Regions from separate parts of the Homo sapiens genome. Here region 2 is linked to region 1. The links are contacts of gene promoters, found by promoter capture Hi-C in blood cells and fetal thymus (Javierre and others, 2016). All regions are on one chromosome and are shown on one strand. The core of a region is centred on a gene start or on the middle of the fragment in contact, and the rest is flanking DNA. Distances in the headings are between cores, read along the strand shown. Region 1 holds the start of MRPL54 (mitochondrial ribosomal protein L54). Region 2 overlaps ANKRD24 (ankyrin repeat domain 24).

The links. The method cuts DNA at HindIII sites, captures the fragments that hold promoters and counts their contacts. A CHiCAGO score of 5 or more calls a contact.
Region 2: a fragment that was not itself captured here is called in contact with the fragment with the promoter of MRPL54 in region 1 in 1 of 17 cell types (total CD8 T cells); the score reaches 5.1 in total CD8 T cells.

The regions. Positions count from the first base shown.
Region 1 is chr19:3,761,432-3,767,087 of GRCh38, reverse strand. It overlaps MRPL54 (mitochondrial ribosomal protein L54), which reads right to left and starts at 4,406. Exons shown (of 3, transcript NM_172251.3): 1 at 4,270-4,406; 2 at 1,757-1,922. The coding sequence starts at 4,387. It overlaps APBA3 (amyloid beta precursor protein binding family A member 3), which reads left to right and starts at 5,396. Exons shown (of 11, transcript NM_004886.4): 1 at 5,396-5,552. It overlaps LOC105372248 (a long non-coding RNA gene), which reads left to right and starts at 4,448. Exons shown (of 3, transcript XR_936268.1): 1 at 4,448-4,530; 2 at 4,882-4,939; 3 at 5,234-5,334. RefSeq lists an enhancer at 4,043-4,532 and a silencer at 5,194-5,511. The HindIII fragment of the contact is 13,040 bases long and covers 1-4,517 here.
Region 2 is chr19:4,198,747-4,204,402 of GRCh38, reverse strand. It overlaps ANKRD24 (ankyrin repeat domain 24), which reads right to left. Exons shown (of 22, transcript NM_001393985.1): 3 at 4,634-4,720; 4 at 4,398-4,528; 5 at 4,232-4,320; 6 at 2,313-2,377; 7 at 1,477-1,534. Among named protein-coding and RNA genes, the nearest start is that of ANKRD24, 19 kb to the right of the region's middle. RefSeq lists enhancers at 3,781-4,427, 4,428-5,074. The HindIII fragment of the contact is 364 bases long and covers 3,139-3,502 here.

The sequences.
Region 1 (5,656 bases), core at 3,157-5,656:
AGCAATGGAGCCAACCCCATCCCAGTGGCACATCTGAGGCTGGCACACGCCAAGCCCTCTCCTGCCTCCTAGCACTGTCCACATCATGCCACCTGCCCCCACTTGCTCAGCCTTCCTGACCCTCCCCAGCCTTCAGATCAGCTTGGGGCCACAGCAGAACCCTTCCTGCAGCCCACAGGTCCTGCCCTCACCTCCTCCCTCTCTCGCCCTCCTCACTGTGCTCCAGCCACACAGGCCTCCCCGCTGTTCCTCCAGCACACCAGGTGCGGTCCTGCCCCGGGGCCTTTGCACAGGCTGTGCCCACTGCCTGGAAAGCCCCTTCCACCCACTCCCGTCTTGGCTTCTGTGTCCCCCAAACCTCAAACTAGAGCAGCCAAACACCCCGGCTCTGTCCCTCATTCTCCTGCCCCCTTCCTGGAAGTGTCACCACCACAGCTGCCTGACTTCCTCCTTCCTGTCTGCCTCCCCAGCTAGCTCCGCCAGGGTGGGGACTTGTGTCTGTTTTGAGCCCTTCTGTATCCCTCAAGCCTAGAGCAGGGCCTGGCATGCAGTCAGTGGTCAATAAGTATTTGCAGGACGGGTGCGGCGGCTCACGCCTGTACTCCCAGCACTTTGGGAGGCCGAGGTGGGCGGATCACCTGAGGTCAGGAGTTCAAGACCAGCCTGGCCAACATGGAGAAACCCTGTCTCTACTAAAAATACAAAATTAGGCCAGGCGTGGTGGCTCACGCCTGTAATCCCAGCACTTTGGGAGGCCAGGGCAGGCGGATCACGAGGTTATCAGGAGTTCGAGACTAGCCTGGCAAACATGGTGAAACCCTGTCTCTACTAAAAATACAAAAATTAGCTGGGTGTGACGGCGGGCACCTGTAATCCCAGCTACTCGGGAGGCTGAGGCAGGAGAATCATTGGAACACTGGGAGGTGGAGGTTGCAGTGAGCCAAGATCACACCACTGCACTCCAGCCTGGGCGACAAGAGCAAAACTCCATCTCAAAAAAAAAAAAAAATTAGCCAGGCATGGTGGCGCATGCCTGTAATCCCAGCTACTCTGAAGGCTGAGGCAGGAGAACCGCTTGAACCCAGGAGGCAGAGGTTGCAGTGAGCCAAGACCACATGACTGCATTCCACACTGGGTGACAGAGCAAGACTCCATATAGAAGAAAAAAAAAAATTTTTTTTTTTTTTTTTGAGACCAAGTCTCACTCTGTTGCCCAGGCTGGAGTACAATGGCGTGATCTCAGCTCACTGCAACCTCTGCCTCCCAGGCTCAAGCAATTCTCGTGCCTCAGCCTCCCAAGTAACTGGGACTACAGGAATGTGCCACCACACCCGGCTAATTTTTATATTTTTAGTAGAGACGAGGTTTCACCATGTTGGCCAGGCTGGTCTCGAACTCCTGACCTCAGGTGATCCAAACGCCTTGCCTCCCAAAGTGCTGGGATTACAGGTGTGAGCCACGGCGCCCAGCCTGAAAAAAAATTTTTTTTAAGTATTTGCTTAAGATAAAGCATTGTTTTAGGTACTTGACATGTGTTCTAATCTCATGAATTCCTCACAGCCCTCTGAGGGAGGGATGGGTCCCATCACCCCATTACAGATGGGCAGAGCCCTGAAGCCCCCTGCCCTAAAGCCAGGATGGGTAGGTGTGACTATTAGGCTCCGGCTGGAGTGGCGATCCGCCTCTCCGGGAAGGGGTCCTCCTGGGGCGGAGGAAGGAATAGTCATTGCAGGATGACACAGCCTGGCCTACTCACCATTCAGGGTACTCAGCATCCGGTTTCAGGGGTACATCCTGCCCTTCCTTGTAGATGTTGACGCCCATGGCATATGTGGTGAGCTGGACAGGATCTGTGCATACGTCGGGGTCCTTGAGGGCCTCGCTGGTCACTGCACCTTTTCCCGATTTGGCCCCCTTCATAACTGGGGAGACGAGAGGGAGAGTCATTTCAGCCCAGCCCCTCCTCTGGAAGCCAAACTTCTCTCACAGAACCCTGTCTCAGGTGGCCTCTGCCCCTGGCTGGACTCTGCTACACTCAAAACTTTCTTTTTTTTTTTTTTTGAGACGGAGTCTCGCTCTGTTGCCCAGGTGGAGTGCAGTGGCGCAGTCTCAGCTCACTGCAAGCTCCGCCTCCCGGGTTCAAGCCATTCTCCTGCCTCAGCCTCCCAAGTAGCTGGGACTACAGGCGCCCACCACCACGCCCAGCTAATTTTTTGTATTTTTAGTAGAGACGGGGTTTCACCGTGTTAGCCAGGATGGTCTCGATCTCCTGACCTCGTGATCTGCCCACCTTGGCCTCCCAAAGTGTTGGGATTACAGGCGTGAGCCACCGCGCCCGGCCACTCAAAACTTTTTTTTAAAGACAGGGTCTCAGCCAGGCATAGTGGCTCATGCCTGTAATCCCAGCACTCTGGGAGGCCGAGGTGGGAAGATCACCTGAGGTCAGGTGAGTTTAAGACCAGCCTGGCCAACATGGTGAAAACTTGTCTCTACTAAAAATACAAAAAAAAAAATTAGCTGGGCATGGTGGCATATGCCTGTGATCCCAGCTACTCGGGAGGCTGAGGCAGGAGAATCACTTGAACCCGGGAGGCGGAGGTTGCAGTGAGCTGAGATCGCATCGCTGCACTCCAGCCTAGGTTACAGAGCAAGATTCCATCTCAAAAAAATAAAAAATCTAAAAAATTAAAAAATAAAGACAGCCCGGCCGGGCGCGGCGGCTCACGCCTGTAATCCCAGCTCTTTGGGAGGCCAAGGTGGGCGGATCACGAGGTCAGGAGGTTGAGACCATCCTGGCTAACATGGTGAAATTCCATCTCTACTAAAAATACAAAAACATTAGCCGGGCATGGTGGTGGGCACCTGTGGTCCCAGCTACTTGGGAGGCTGAGGCAGGAGAATGGCGTGAACCCAGGAGGCGGAGCTTGCAGTGAGCCAAGATTGCGCCACTGCACACTCCAGCCTGGGCGACAGAGCGAGACTCCGTCTGAAGAAAATAAAAAAATAAAAAATAAAAGCCCAGGCTGGAGGGCAGGGGCACAATCATGGCTCACTGCAGCCTCAAACTCCCAGGCTCAAGTGATCCTTCTGCCTCAGCCTCCCAAGTAGCTGAGATCACAGTTGTGAGCCACCATGCCCCGCTTATTTTTATTTTTATTTATTTATTTATTTATTTTGAGACAGAGTCTCACTGTGTCGCCCAGGCTGGAGTGCAGTGGCGTGATCTCGGCTCACTGCAACCTCCGCCTCCTGGGTTCAAGCAGTTCTCCTGCCTCAGCCTCCTGAGTAGCTGGGATTACAGACATGTGCCACCATGCCCCACTAATTTTTGTATTTTTAGTAGAGCTAGGGTTTCACCATGTTGGTCAGGCTGATCTTGAATTCCTGACCTTGTGATCCACCTGCATCAGCCTCCCAAAGTGCTGGGATTACAGGCGTGAGCTACCGCGCCAGGCAATTTTTTTTTTTTTTTATACAAACAGGGTCCTGCTATGTTGCCCAGGCTGGTCTCGAACTCCTGGGTTCAAGCAATCGATCCTCCCTCCTTGGCTTCCCAAAGTGCCGGGAATAAAGGTGTGAGCCATCATGCCTGGCCTCGAAATCACTTTAAGTGGGATTTGGACACAGCATTAAGTAACTTTAAGTGGGATTTGGACATAGCATTAAGTAACACCGATGCTTGGAATGACCAAGTCATTCAAGTTATATTTTGTCTGCTATGTGTCTGTCTTTAAGGCCGAACATTGGACAATTTCCCCCTTTCAACAAAGGAGATCAGGCAAGGCTGTATCCAGCTAAACCTTAATAACCTTGTTTTGTTCTTGCTGAAGTGGCCAATTAAACGGGCTCCATAATTTCTTTGAATGTTTGGTAACGTCTTGGCCAAGGTTACCCAGCGATTTGGAGGCAGGCAGAGAAACAGAACTGGAACCCAAGTTCATGACCTCCCCAGACTCCCTTCAAATCCTTTCCAACCCGCGCCTGCGCAGTGAAACGCGTGGTCTCCACGTAACCACATCCTCCTCCCAGGCCGCTCCGCCCCAAGCTGGCGCCTGCGCCCTGGGTCCAATCGCTACAGTATCTCCGAGCCAGACGCCCGAGCTCCAAGCGGCGCTGGGTCCCTCAAACTGCGCCTGCGCATACAGCCTGGCATCCGCCTCTCTGCGCTTGCGCATCAGTTCTAGCACCACCTCCCCAACCACCGCCTGCGCACTGTCAATTCCTCAGTGCACCCACCGTCCCCATTTGGTTCCTCTTAACCCAGCTCACCTGGTTTCTTGGCATAATCCCGGGCCAGGAGTCTTCCGGAAGTGGCGGGGTTTAGGAGCTCCCAGGCCCCCCAGCCGGCCCACGTCCGGGTAGCCCCGAAAAGGCGTTTGGTCGCCATGACGTATTGCGGGCAGCTTGCAAGTGCACGTTTCCGGAAGACGTCAGTGGCCCAAGGGTGTTTGGGAGTTGTAGGCCCCGTGGAAGTGTAGGCCCCGTGGAGGTGTCTGGGAAATGCGGTCTCCCAAGCTTTCATAATCTATGGTGATTTCTTCAGACTTTTGTAGACATACACAGTTACTATAGGAGGAGGCGTTCAAGGGATATTTCATTGACTTCTTGCCCTTCTTCAATTACATAACATTTACTAAAAATATCACACTTTATATGTTCCTGATTCCATCCAATGAGTAATTATTCAAAGCTTTAAAGTTAAAAAAAGAAGATTAACAATGAGTCTAATATACTCCAGTAGGGCTGGAGTCTAATCACTGTTAATTTTTATAACATTATATTTTTAAAATTATATATAACATATATAATACATATAATATATAGTATGTTTTATATATAATATATAAATTAATAATATATATTTTATATATTCTTTTCCAGCTCTACTACTGCTAAATCCTTAACCCGCTTGATCTAATTTAATCCTCACAATTGAGAGGTAGGTACTATTTTTTCCCCAGCTTATAATGAGGAAACTGAGTTCTCAGGGAGGTAAAGTTCCCAGGCCGACCCCAAATCCATGGTGCACCTATGTGTCTCCCTACTGTGAGCCAAACCGAAAGTCCGTCTTTAACAGGGTCTCCACGACGCTTCCGGTGCCTCAAGGTCCCAAGGAAACCACCTCTCACACTTCTTTAATATTTCCCAACCCCACTTCTCCCCATCTGCCATCCTTTGGAATAATGAACACAGCCCCCAGAGCCAGGCAGTGATTATTAACCCTATTTTGCAGGAGAACAAACAGGTCCTGGGGCCAGCCGGGGCAGTCTGCGGGCCGGGAAGCCTGGGATTCGAACTCCCCTCCAACATCTGCAGTTGTCCCAGCGCCCCCGCGTGGCGAGGCTGGGTGGGAGAACTACATTTCCCAGCAGGCCTCGCGAGGCCGCGCATGCTCAATGGGCCAGGGCTCTGCGCGGATAGAGGAGCGGGCGCCGGGACCGGGAATCCCCGAGCTGCGCCTTCTGGGGACGCGGCCCGGGCTACGTCGGGGCCGTCCGTGGGGAGCGGGGTCCTGGAGGCTGCGCGGGGCTGAGGCGGCCTCGATTTGGGAAGTGAGTGTCCTCGAGGTGCAGAGCGCAGTCTGAGTCGGCGCTTGAGGTCTTCGGTCTGAGGGGGGACTAGGGTCTGGGCTTGGGGCTGGGTCCTGAAGTCGGGG
Region 2 (5,656 bases), core at 2,071-4,570, 440 kb before region 1:
GCTGCGGACAAGTGACAGCCTCATTAAGCCTCATCAAGCCTCATCTGTGCAATGGGCTAATAGCCTGTGGTTCAAAGGGTAACCGGGATTTATGATGGGCTCCAGTGCCTGGCACACAGTAGGTAATAAAAAAGGAGAAGGGCCGGCACGGTGGCTCACGCCTGTAATCCCAGCACTTTGGGAGGCCGAGCAGGCGGATCACGAGGTCAGGAGATCAAGACCATCCTGGCTAACACAGTGAAACCCCGTCTCTACTAAAAAATACAAAAAAATTAGCCGGGCATGGTGGCAGGCGCCTGTAGTCCCCGCTACTCGGGAGGCTGAGGCAGGAGAATGGCGTGGACCCGGGAGGCGGAGCTTGCAGTGAGCCGAGATCACGCCACTGCACTCCAGCCTGGGTGACAGAGCGAGACTCCACCTCAAAAAAAAAAAAAAAAAAAAAAAAGGGAGAAGGGCCGGCACGGTGGCTCACGCCTGTAATCCCAGCACTTTGGGAGGCCGAGGCGGGCAGATCACCTGAGGTCAGGAGTTCGAGATGAGCCTGGCCAACATGGTGAAACCCCATCTCTACTAAAAATACAAAAAAATTTTAGGTGGGTGTTGTGGCATAGGTCTGTAGTCCCAGCTACTCAGGAGGCTAAGGCAGGAGAATTGCTTGAACCTGGGAGGTGGAGGTTGCAGTGAGCCAAGATTGCGCCATTGCACTCCACCCTGGGCGACAGAGGGAGATTCTATGTCAAGAAAAAAAGGAGGAGGCTAGGTGAGGTGGCTCACGCCTGTAATTCCAGCACTTTGAGTGGCCGAGGTGGGAGGATCATTTGAGCCCAGGAGTTTGAGATCAGCCTGGGCAACATAGCAAGATCCTGTATCTACAAATAAATTTAAAATATTAGCCAGGCATGGTGGTGCACGCCTGTGGTCCCAGCTACTTGGGAGTCTGAGGCAGGAGGATCGTTTGAACCCGGGAGGTCAAGGATGCAGTGAGCCATGATTGCCCCACTGTACTTCAGCCTGGGCAACAGAGCAAGACCCTATCTCATAAAAAGAAAAGGAAGGCCAGGAGCGGTGGCTCACGCCTGTAATCCCAGCACTTTGGGAGGCCAAGGCGGGTGGATCACCTGAGGTCAGGAGTTCGAGACCATCCTGGCCACCATGGTGAAACCCCGTCTTTACTAAAAATACAAAACATCAGCCAGGTGTGGTGGCAGGTGCCTCTAGTCCCAGCTACTCGGGAGGCTGAGGCAGGAAAATTGCTTGAACCTGGGAGATGGATGTTACAGTGAGCTGAGATCTTGCCACTGCACTCCAGCCTGGGCAACAGAGTGAGACTCCGTCTCAAAAAAAAAAAAAGAAAGAAAGAAAGGAGGAGACAGGAAGCTTCACAGCAGGTCAGGTCCCTAGGGCCCTGGGCAGAATAACCCCCAAGTCTAGCACCCTCTGGGCTTCGGGGTCAGGGCAGGGCTGGGCTGCACCCACCTGCATGGTGTAGGGCAGTCCACCCGCTGCTGTCCACGACGTCCACCACGCAGGAAGCCTGGGGATGGGGCGAGTCCTTTGAGGCGGAGCCATCCTTCTTGCTGCCTGATTTCTCTAGGACTGCCTTCCCTACCCTGGGCTCTGCTATACTTCAGCCTCACCCTTCCGTGGCCCCCAAGGGACTCCATTTTCATGAAAATTGGTGAGAAAAGAAAATAGCTGAGAGCTGAGAAGCAGCTGAGAATTTGAGGAGTGGCTGGGAACTCTGGGAGTGTCTGGGGCTAAGGAAGGACCCAGGGCTTGGGGAGAAACAGAGCTCAGGAAATACCTGGCATTGGGAGTATATATATATATTTTAGATGGTGTTTCGCTCTTGTTGCCCAGGCTGGAGTGCAATGGCATGATCTCGGCTCACTGCAACCTCCGCCTCCCAAGTTCAAGGGATTCTCCTGCCTCAGCCTCCCTAGTAGCTGAGATTACAGGCACACACCACCGCTCCCAGCTAATTTTTTGTATTTTTAGTAGAGACGGGGTTTCACTGTGTTGGCCAGGCTGGTCTCGAACTCCTGACCTCAGGCGATTTCACCGACCTCAGCCTCCCAAAGTGCTGGGATTACAGGCGTGAGCCACCGCGCCTGGCTTGGGAGTACATCTTAAATAGGAGAAGCATGTGGATGGTCTGAGAGTACCTGGTTATCCAGGGAGTAGCTAGGGTTCTGGAGTAAAAGGGGCCAAGGAATATCTAGGATTCATAGAGCATCTGGGGGTTCAAGGAATTGCTGGAACTCAGGAGTAGTAGGGGCCAAGGGAGTAGCTGAGATAAGACAGTAAATGACCTGCAGTAGTTGCTTCAAGCACTGTGGGTGCCCGTATTTGGCGGCCAGGTGGAGGGCATTGTAACCTGGGGAAGGAAAGAAGATTTACTGGAGCTCCAGCTATTCAAGTAGCTCCCAGCTGCTCCCCAAGCCATGTCAACTACTTGTGATGAGTTTCTGAGTCTAGCAAAGTCCGTAAACCCTAGTATTTCTCTCCTTTTTTCCCTGCAGAAAGGATCTTGCTCTGTGGCCCAGGCTAGAGTGCAGTGTGATCATAGCTCACTGTAGGCTTGAACACCTAGGCTCAAGCGATCCTCCTGTCTCAGCCTTCCGAGTAGCTGGGACTACAAGCAAGTGCCACCATGTCTGGCTAATTTATTTGTATTTTCTGTAGAGACAGGAGTCTTGCTATGTTGCCCAAGCTCGTCTTGAACTCCTTGGCTCGTGCGATCCTCCCACCTCAGCCTCCCAAAGTGCTGGAATTAACAGACATGAGCCATGGTGCCCGGCCATCAGGTACTTCTCAAAACCATGCTATTCCCTGTACCCAGAGACTCTCTAAGCCATGGCTAGTCTGTATTCCAGACAATCCCATCTCAGCGACTGTCCACACCCACCTATTCCTCAAGCCCTATTGCCTCAGCTACTCCCCATGTCCCCAGATACTCTACAGGGTCCACTACACCAAAGTTTCAGCTCTGCCCTTCACAACCCACAGTTGCTGTATATGTTCTTGCCAATCCATATACCCTTCCTCTTCCAAATGCCAACTCTGTCCCTGTCTGATGCTCCATGAATCCCCAGCTATTCCATATTCCCTGCCCACCATGCCTGTGACCCTAAAGCTTCAGATTTGACTGTGTCCCCATGCCTAGTTGCCTCCTGAGCCCCAACTACTCCTTTTGGCCACACATTTTTATCTCAGTTATTCCCCCCAGGTCTCCAGTTAAGTCATACATACATACAAGTTCTCCTCGTAACCCAGCTACTCCAAGAGCTCAAGCTACTCCCACAGCTCCAGCTACTCCTAGATCCCAGCTATCCCATATACCTCAGATATCCCCAAACTCTACTTGTTATTCTCTTGCCCCAGATACTTTGCAAGCTCAGCTACTCCCATGAATCCAGTTCCTCCTCCAAACTCCAAGCAGTTCCCTTCAGTCACTTCCTTTATCTCGGATACTCCTATATCCCAGATGCACCTCAAAGCTTAGTTCGTCCAATGGTCCCAGTTATCTCCCAAGCCCCAGTTCTTCCTCTGCCTCAGTCACTTTCTAGAAACTTCCCCAGGCTTGGCATGGTGGCTCACACCTATAATCTCAGCACTTTGGGAGTCTGAGGTGGAAGGATCACTTAGAGCCCAGGAGTTCAAGACCGGCCTGGGCAACACAGGGAGACCCCATCCCTACTAAGAATAGAAAAATTAACTGGGCATGGTGGTGTGCGCCTATAGTCCTAGCTACTTGGGAGGCTGAGGTTGGAGGGGATCCCTTGAGCCCAGGAAATGGAGACTGCAGTGAGCTGAGATCATGGCCACTGCACTCAAGCCTGGGTGACAGAGGGAGACCCTGTCCCTCCCCCCAAAAAAGAAAAACAAAACAACAAAACCCCAGAAACTTTGCAGCTATCCCCCAAGCCCCAGCTACTTCCCCATGCCAGCTACTTCCCCATCCAACTGAACCAATACCTGAATCCTAGTCACTCCCCATCCACAAGCTGTCCACTGGCTTTGCTCGGTGCCAGCCACAGTCTCTATCTTTGGCCACCCCATCCTAACATGCCCCTGTGTGTCTCCCTGGGGGCAGGGGAGGAGCACCAGAGGGAGCCTCCCCTTTTTTCAGCGGGGAACATTGAGACCTGGGAGCAGGGTCTGGCTGGACCCTCAGGCTGGGCACCTGGGCTTAGTTCCTCCTCCCTCCCCGGGGCCCAGCTGGCAGTACCTGCCCCGTCCGCGCTCATGACATTGCTGCCATGAGCTATCATCACCTCCAGACAGCTGGCCGCACCCCGCATGGCCGCCAGGTGGAACCTGGAGGTGAGAGACAAGGGTTCAGCCGCAAGGTTGCCACCCCTCAGCCATCTCACTCCCGGGTCGCGGGCACTCACGCGGACTTGCCCTCGGGGTCTAGCTTCGTGGGCACCAGCCCCTTGCGGGCGATGAGGGCGGCCACCCGAGGTGCATCGTTGTTTTCCACGGCTTGTAGCAGCCTCTCGTCACTCTTGCCCCAGTCTTGACTCTGCAGGGCACGCCCAGAAGTGCGTGGGGCAGTGTTGGCTGCTGTCCCCTCCCCACGCCCCCGACAGGGGCTCCGGGCTCTCACCACCTGCCCCTGGGCACTTGCCTGGCGCCTGCCTCTGGCTGCCGGCTTCGGGATGGGGCAGGGGCCGCAGGGCGGGCAGGAGCCAAGGTCAGTGGGGCTGAGCCGCAGCTGCAGGGGGAGGTGGTCCTGGGCGAGGGGGTCCTCAGACAGTGTCCCCCAAGCCTGCGACCCCCAGCATCTGCCCCCAGGCCCATCACCCCAGTTGTCCAACAAAAGCCCACCACCAGCATCATCCCCTGAGCAGCCCCCTGGCATCTATTTCCAAAACGTTGTCCCCTGGGCTGAGCATGGAGGCTCACGCCTGTAGTCCCAGCATCTGGGGAGGCCAAGGTGGGAGGATCGCTTGAGCCTAGGAGTTTGAGACAAACCTGGGCACCATAGTAGGACCCCGTCTCTACAAAAAATAAAAATCATCAGCGGGGCATGGTGGCTCATGCCTGTAGCTGCTTGGGAGGCTGAGGTGGGAGGATCATTTGAGCCCAGGAATTTTGAGACCAGCCTAGGCAACACAGCAAGACCCACTCTGTACAATAAAAAAAGTTGTCCCCCAATTCATCCCTTAGTGAAAGCCACCCCTGCAACATCGCCCCCAGCAAATGGATCCATGAGTCTTTTCCAAACTACCCTCCAAAGTCCCATCTGAACCCCTAAAAGTCCCCTTTAAATGCCTCTCAGGACCATCCTCTGCCCTGTTTATCCACAACTGCCCTGAAATGCCACCACTGTCCCCTAAACATCCCGAGGCTTCTCCCCTCAACACTATAGCCTGAAATGCATTACGAAATGTCTCCCCCAAATTCCTGAAGTGTTCTGTAAAACCATCCTTCCCAATGATACCGTCATGTCCCAAAAATATCCTCCAAAAACATCCCTCAAATGTTCTCCCAAACTGTTCTCCAAATCATTACCTCTTCGCAAAATCGGCTCTCCCAAAATAGCTTCCAAGTTGTCCCCTCAATGACCCCATCTGTCTCCAAAATGTTTTCCCAAAACTGCACCCCCCAATGCCCTCTAAATGTTCCTAAATGTCCCCATTTGTTTCAA